2 separate regions of the Homo sapiens genome follow, and region 1 is linked to region 2. The links are contacts of gene promoters, found by promoter capture Hi-C in human tissues and cell types (Jung and others, 2019). All regions are on one chromosome and are shown on one strand. Each heading gives the region's core, a stretch centred on a gene start or on the middle of the fragment in contact. The rest is flanking DNA. Distances are from core to core; before and after follow the strand shown. Region 1 overlaps LOC124901705 (a long non-coding RNA gene). Region 2 holds the start of BAIAP2L1 (BAR/IMD domain containing adaptor protein 2 like 1).

Region 1 (3,500 bases), core at 447-2,946, 130 kb before region 2:
CCTGTAATCCCAGCACTTTGGGAGGCTGAGGCGGGCAGATCACGTAAGGTGAGGAGTTCGAGACCAGCCTGGCCAACATGGTGAAACCCCGTCTCTACTAAAAATAGAAAAATCAGCCAGACATGATGGCACATGCCTGTAATCCCAGCTACTCGGGAGGCTGAGGCAGGAGGATTGCTTGAACCCTGGAGACGGAGGCTGCAGGAGGTTGCAGTGAGCCAAAATCACACCATTGCACTCCAGTCTGGGCGACACAGCAAGACTGTCTCAAAAAATAAAAAATAAAAAATAATAATAATAATAATAACTTTAAAAAAAAAGGTTTGAGGCAGCTGTTCACTCCATCTGCCACATGGTGGCACAGCAAGTGGGCAACTATGAAGCAAGAGTGAGCCCTGACCAAGCACTGAATCTGCTGGGGACTTTATATTGGACTCCCCAGTCTCTAGAACCATGAGAAATAAATTTCTGTCATTTATAAATTACCCAGTCTAAGATATTTTGTTATAACATCCCAAAGAAACTAAGACACTGCACAACAAATGGTCACAAATTTATCAGCTCCCAACAGCACACATTTATTCTTCCACAGTTTCCATTGGCGAAGTCTGGGCACTGCTTGGCTGTGTCTTCTGCTCAGGGTCTCTTGGGGTTACATTCAAGGTGTTGGAGGGAGAGGCTGCATTCTCATCTGGAGGTGCGAGTGGGGAATAATCTGCTGTCAAGCTCGTCCAACTTGGCAGAATTCATTTCCTTGCAACCGATGATGGAAGGCACCCTGTGTCTTGCTGACTGCTGTCTTCCCTCAGGTCCTGGAGCCACCTACCATTTCCTGCCACATGACCCTCTCCAGGGGCTGATCACAACATAGTTGCTTGCTTCTGCAAGGCCAGCAGGACAGAGGCTCTAGCCTCCAAAAGGGCCAAATCCCTCTTCCAAGGGCTTCTATTAATTAAACCAAGCTCACCCAAGATATTCTCCCTTTTGATGAACTCAAAAGCAACTCAATTCAGTTAAGTACATCTGCCAAACCCTTTCATCTTTTCCATATTCTATTAGCTAGAAGGAAGATAGAGTTCAATTCAAGGAAAGGGGGTTACATAGGAGGCAGAGAGGCTGGGAGCCACCCAAGGGTCTGTCAGCCGCAGTGAAATGACTGGGAGAAAGATAATTTGATTTTGGTATGGAGAGGGAGCCATAGATAAATATGCCTACTGATCTCAAGGAAGTCAAATTAAGACAAACATAAAGGAGGCCAGGTGCACTGGCTCACGCCTGTAATCCCAACACTTTGGGAGGCCAAGGTGGGCTGATAACCTGAGATCAGGAGTTCGAGAGCAGCCTGGCCAACAGGGTAAAACCACATCTCTACTAAAAATACAAAAATTAGCCTGGCATGGTGGCACATGCCTGTAATCCCAGCCACTCGGGAGGCTGAGTCAAGAGAATTGCTTGAACCCGGGAGGCAGAGGTTGCAGTGAGCTGAGATCACACCGCTGCATTCCAGCCTGGGCGACAGAGCAAGACTCTGTCTCAAAAAGAAAAAGAACTGGTGGGCACGCTGGCACACACGTATAATCCCAGCACTTTGGGAGGCCGAGGTGGGTGGATCACCTGACCTCCTCACCTGAGGTTGGGAGTTCGAGACTGGCCTGACCAACATGGAGAAACCCCGTCCATAGTAAAAAATGCAAAATTAGCTGGGAATGGTGGCACATACCTGTAATCCCAGCTACTCGGGAGGCTGAGGCAGGAGAATTGCTTGAACCCCGGAGGCGGAGGTTGTGGTGATGTGAGATTGTGCCACTGCACTCCAGCCTGGGCAGCAAGAGCGAAACTCCTTCTAAAAAAAAAAAAAAAAAGACCAGCTTATGTGGAAGGTGCTTCTGTTGGGCACTCAGGGTCAACGGATGCAGGGCAGGGTGGTCCTGAATGGCACGCTGAAGGGCCAGGATCTCACACCATGGGCTGCTGAGAGCCACTGAAGGTTTTTAAGCAGGGAGAGCTGGTGGCTCAGCTGAGCACAGTCACTCAAGGAAGATTACTCTGATGGTGGAAGGGGTACGCAGAGATGGGAAGCTTGCAGGTGACAGGGGCTGGGACTAGTCTAGGTCATGAGATGGATAAGAAGGCTGTGTAGGCTTTAAAAGCAAGACACAAGGGCTAGGAGCAGTGGCTCACACCTGAATCCCACCACTTTGGCAGGCCAAGGCAGGAGGATCACTTGAGCTTAGGAGTTTGAGACCAGCCTGGGCAACACAGCAAGACCCTGTCTCTTAAAAAAAAAAAAAGCAAGACACCATTATTACACCTCAATAAGGCTGTACACACACACACACACACACACACACACACACACACACACACACACACGACAGACTACAAGTCGTAGTTCCTGGATACAGGAATACAGGAGCATTGTATGTTTCCATGGAAAAGGGTTTCTCAAAAACTAAAGAGGGGCCAGGCATGGTGGCTCACACCTGTAATCCCAGCACTTTGGGAGGCGTGTCTTGACCTTGTGGCCTCAAGCGATCCTTCCACCTCAGCCTCCTGAGTAGTTGGGACTACAGGTGCGCACCACCACACCTGGTTAGTTTTTGTATTTTTAGTAGACATGGGGTTTCACCATGTTGGCCAGGCTGGTCTCGAACTCCTGACCTCAGGTGATCCATCTGCCTTGGCTCCCAAAGTGCTGGGGTTACAGGCATGAGCCACCGTTCCCGGCCCATATCCCTTTTTCTAATGCTATATTATAAATGCAAAAAGGAATTGTCCCAGGAAAGTAAGGAAAATGATCCACTAAAAAGAATGAATGAATGATGATCTTTTTTTTTTTTAAATTTTTATTTTTTGTAGAGATGGGGTTTCACTGTGTTGCCCAGGCTGGTCTCAAACTCCTGGGCTCAAGCCATCCTCCCGCCTCAGCCTCCCAAAGTGCTGAGATTATAGGCATGAGCCACCAGGCATGGGCATTACAGGCATGAGCCCAGCCTGAGGTGGGGGTCTCTGAGGGGGGCTTGGTTCATGCAACTGAGGGGTCATTCCTGCCTACTCACGGATCAGGCTTTCTGCTCACCTCAACTGACCCTAAAGACACTTTCTTTTTTTTTTTTTTTTTTTTTTTGAGATGAAGCCTCGCTCTTATCCCCCAGTCTGGAGTGCAATGGCGCGATCTCGGCTCACTGCAACCTCTGCCTCCCGGGTTCAAGTGATTCTCCTGTCTCAGCCTCCCTAGTAGCTGGGATTACAGGTGCATACCATCACGCCCAGCTAATTATTTGTATTTTAAGTAGAGACAGGGTTTCACCATGTTGGCCAGGATGGTCTCGAATTCCTGACCTCAGGTGATCCGCTGGCCTCAGCCTCCTAAAGTGCTGGGATTACAGGCGTGAGCCACCACGCCTGGCCCCTGAAGACACTTTCTAGGGCCTCAGGGAAAGCCTGAAACTGGGCTGCTGGCTTGGGCATTTGTCACTTGGCAACTTGGGCATTGTCTT
Region 2 (3,381 bases), core at 803-3,302:
GAGTCTGGCAGAAAGAACGTTTTATTTACACACTTGGTCAGTACCCCACACCTCATGCAGCAACGTCTTCCGGGTCATTTAAATAGTAGCAATCTCAATACAAATGTAGGAATTTCTCAAATTTCGAATTTCTCAAATTTCTAAAGATCGCCCTCTATGAAGGCAACACACGAATAGAAGAGTTTTTGGTCACAGTGACTGAGCATCAAAAACGCTGTGTCAACTGTGTCTACTCTCCCTACCTGTAAGGCATAATTTATATGTGACAGTATACACTTTGTGTGTTAAGATAAACGGAACGGATCTCTTGGATTTCAATACATAACAAAAATGTTCATGTTCTTCTCTTACTTTCATTCAACAAAAGTTAATAGACTCCTCTGATTTTAGGAATTCAGACCTTGAAAACCCAGAAACTAAAATTTTAGGTTTAAAAAAGTCTATCAAAATGACTAAACTTCCTGATTCAAGCACCAGGGACAGAAAAAAGATAAAACACACCAACCAACCAACCGACCAACCATTTATTTATAACCTTAAACATGCCTATACATGAACTTAGAGAACGTTAAAGTTTCAAGGGTTCGAAGCGCCTAGGCTGAATTAAAACAAAAGTTGTTTTGTGTTCTATTAATAGCAGATGATTAACAGATATCTTATTTCACCTGGAATTCATTTGTAAGTATGTAAACTAAACAGGCCACTAATCCTAAGTCTCTGTCTGTGTCTGGAAAAATTCTCTCCTAATACATGCAAGTTAAGAGACCGGCTATCAACGCATTCCTTAAGGTTAGGTCAATTTCATTAAAACCTCGGTTGTTCTTTGACTTCAAGAACCTCACCAAATAACCCATATATAAAAGCCAAGTTCAACTGAAAGGTGGGAGAGGAAGGGTCTAAGGAGGAGGGCGTTTCCCGGGAGAACGCCCAGAGCTCGGCTCACCTGGCGATCCTAATTACAGGGGAGTTTCACCCCCACATTCTTGGGCGCTTTCTTTTCTTAGAGGAAACTCGAGCTTGTGTCTTTGGTCCCGGAGGGCTTAAGCCCGGCAGCCAGGACAGCACGGGTCACTGATTCCAAGAAGTTGGGAGGAGGACGTGGGCCCCACCGACGCACAACAGACCCCTCCCCAACTTAAGTGCACTAGTTGTAAAATGTGTAGCTGGTCAGGGGATGGGGGGTGGTCTCCAGAGCTCTGAGGGTCAGGGAAGAGGAGAAGGGACGGGGAGGAGAAGGGACAGGGGAGGCGGAGAAGGGCCAGGAGAGGAGGGGGAGACACACGGGGAAGGAGGAAGAACCAAGAGGAGGGGGAGGGGGAGGGGGAGGGAGGGGGATAGACTGGGGAGAAGAAGGGACAGGGGAGGAGGGGGAGACACACGGGGGAGAAGGAAGAACCAGGAGGAGGGGAGGGACAGTGTCGAGGGGCAGGGGAGGAGGGAGAGTGAACGGGGAGCGGAGGGGCAGAGGGAGAGGTACAGCGGGGCGGGAAAGAGAGACAGGGAAGAAGCACAGGGAGGAGGGGAGGGAAGGAGGAGGAAAAGTAGGGGGGAGGGGATGGGGAGGGACTGGGAGGAAGGAGAGGGCCAGGGGAGGAAGAAGAGGGGCTGTGGAGGGCCAGGGGAGGAGTGGGAGAGACCGGGAGAGGTGGAAGGACGCGGGGGAGGGGAGCTGGAGGGAGGGAAAGTACCTTCCCGCGTAAAGTCCCCTTCTGAACCCCGAGGTGGAAAGCCCTGACCTCCCTGAGCCCCGGGCCCTGGGCTTACCCGGTAGGTGCTCTCCGTGAGCCGGTTCACCTCCTCGGGCCCCCGGGACATGGCTGCGGCCGCCGGGCGAGCAAGCGCGGGAGGACGCGGCTGGGCCTCGTGGCCGCCGGACTCCGGGCAGCGGGAGGGCCGGGGCGCGACTAAGGGGCTCTGGAGGGTCGGCCGCCGCCGCAGCCGTCGGCCCGAGAGTGCCCGCGCGCGTCTCCGCTGCGAAAATGTCAAAACTTGCGGCAGCGCCGCCCTGGCCTTCTTCGAGGAGCAGAGGAGAAGCGGCCGGACGCCGCCAGAGGAAGCTGGGCGGGCCGGGCGGCCCCACCTGAGGCGGGCGGGGCAGACGGGGGCGGGGCCGCAGGGCCGGAGGGGCGTGGCGTACCCACCTGAGGCGGCCTGGTGAGCGGGGCCCGGCCGGGGTGGGCGGGGAGGAGGCGGGGCCAGGCAGCTGGAATGGGCGTGGCCAGAGGGAAGCGGGCCCCCCGAGTGGGCGGGGTCACCCCACCTGTGGCGGACAGGGCAGCGAGGCCACGGTGCGCCCCCTCGCGGCTCTCCCAGAGCTCCGGCGACGTAGGGCCCGAGACCCTGGAGTGGGGACCGGTGTGGAGTGGGCTGCTCGCTTTGCTGTTTTGCTAGGGCAAGGGCAGCCTGGGGGTGTTTAGACTGTGGTCCTGGAGCCCTTGTTTGCCTCGCGTGGTGCTGGCCCCGGGGACCCCGAGGCCCACTTCCTCCATGAGGGCTTCCTTCAAGCCCTGCGTTTTGGGGACCAAGGGAAGGGGCCACATTCCCCAGTTGTATTGATTTCCCTGATTGATCTCTTCTTGCCCCGCCGCTCACTGACCCCAAAAGTTAGAGGGACCCGTGGGGGCATCGGCCCTCCTAGGTGGAGAAAACGGGCTGCCACTTGCAGTTTTGAAAGCTCCTGATATATCAAAAAATTAATAAATGCCAGGGTCTAGTTACCGAAATGTTAGTACTTTTTTTTTTTTGAGATGGAGTCTCACTCTGTCGCCTAGGCTGGAGTGCAGTGGTGCGATCTCAGCTTGCTGCAACCTCCGCTTCCCAGGTTCAAGCGATTCTCCTGCCTGGCATGAGCCATCCTGCCTGGCCCCCAGATAGAAGCTTTTTGTTTGTTTTTGAGACAGAGTTTCACTCTTGTCCCCTCAGGCTGGAGTGCAGTGGTGCTCTCTCAGCTTGCTGCAATCTCTGCCCCCCAGGTTTAAGCAATTCTCCTGCCTCAGCCTCTCGAGTAGCTGAGATTACAGGTGCACGTGCCACCAAGCCAGGCTAATTTTTTTGTATTTTTAGTAGAGACGGGGTTTCACCATGTTGGCCAGGTTGGTCCCGAGCTCCTAACCTCAGGTGATCCGCCCTGCTCAGCCTCCCAAAGTGCTGGGATTACAGGCTTGAACCACCGCGCCCGGCCCAGTAGTACATTTTTAAACTTTACATTAACAACGACCTTTAACTCAATGCAGTGTAACCATGCTACTCACGAGATTGTTGTAGGGTTTAGAAAACCACCTGAGCTGAAGTGTTAGGGAAGCCTCTCTTCTTGTCATCACTCAAACTCTGTGGAGGTGTGTGGCTCCTGGGCTCCCTATTTTGTCTCCATCCCGGCCTCAG

What was found. Contacts are between HindIII fragments. The study calls those that stand out against the background at their distance.
Region 1: a contact is called between a fragment that was not itself captured here and the fragment with the promoter of BAIAP2L1 in region 2, in 1 of the 25 tissues and cell types used here (liver).

The regions. Positions count from the first base shown.
Region 1 is chr7:98,266,671-98,270,170 of GRCh38, forward strand. LOC124901705 (a long non-coding RNA gene) reads right to left here. Exons shown (of 3, transcript XR_007060446.1): 2 at 1,721-1,843; 3 at 558-691. Among named protein-coding and RNA genes, the nearest start is that of BRI3, 13 kb to the right of the region's middle. The HindIII fragment of the contact is 6,745 bases long and covers 1-3,500 here.
Region 2 is chr7:98,399,038-98,402,418 of GRCh38, forward strand. BAIAP2L1 (BAR/IMD domain containing adaptor protein 2 like 1) reads right to left here and starts at 2,053. Exons shown (of 14, transcript NM_018842.5): 1 at 1,765-2,053. The coding sequence starts at 1,815. RefSeq lists a silencer at 1,727-2,386. The HindIII fragment of the contact is 4,393 bases long and covers 1-3,365 here.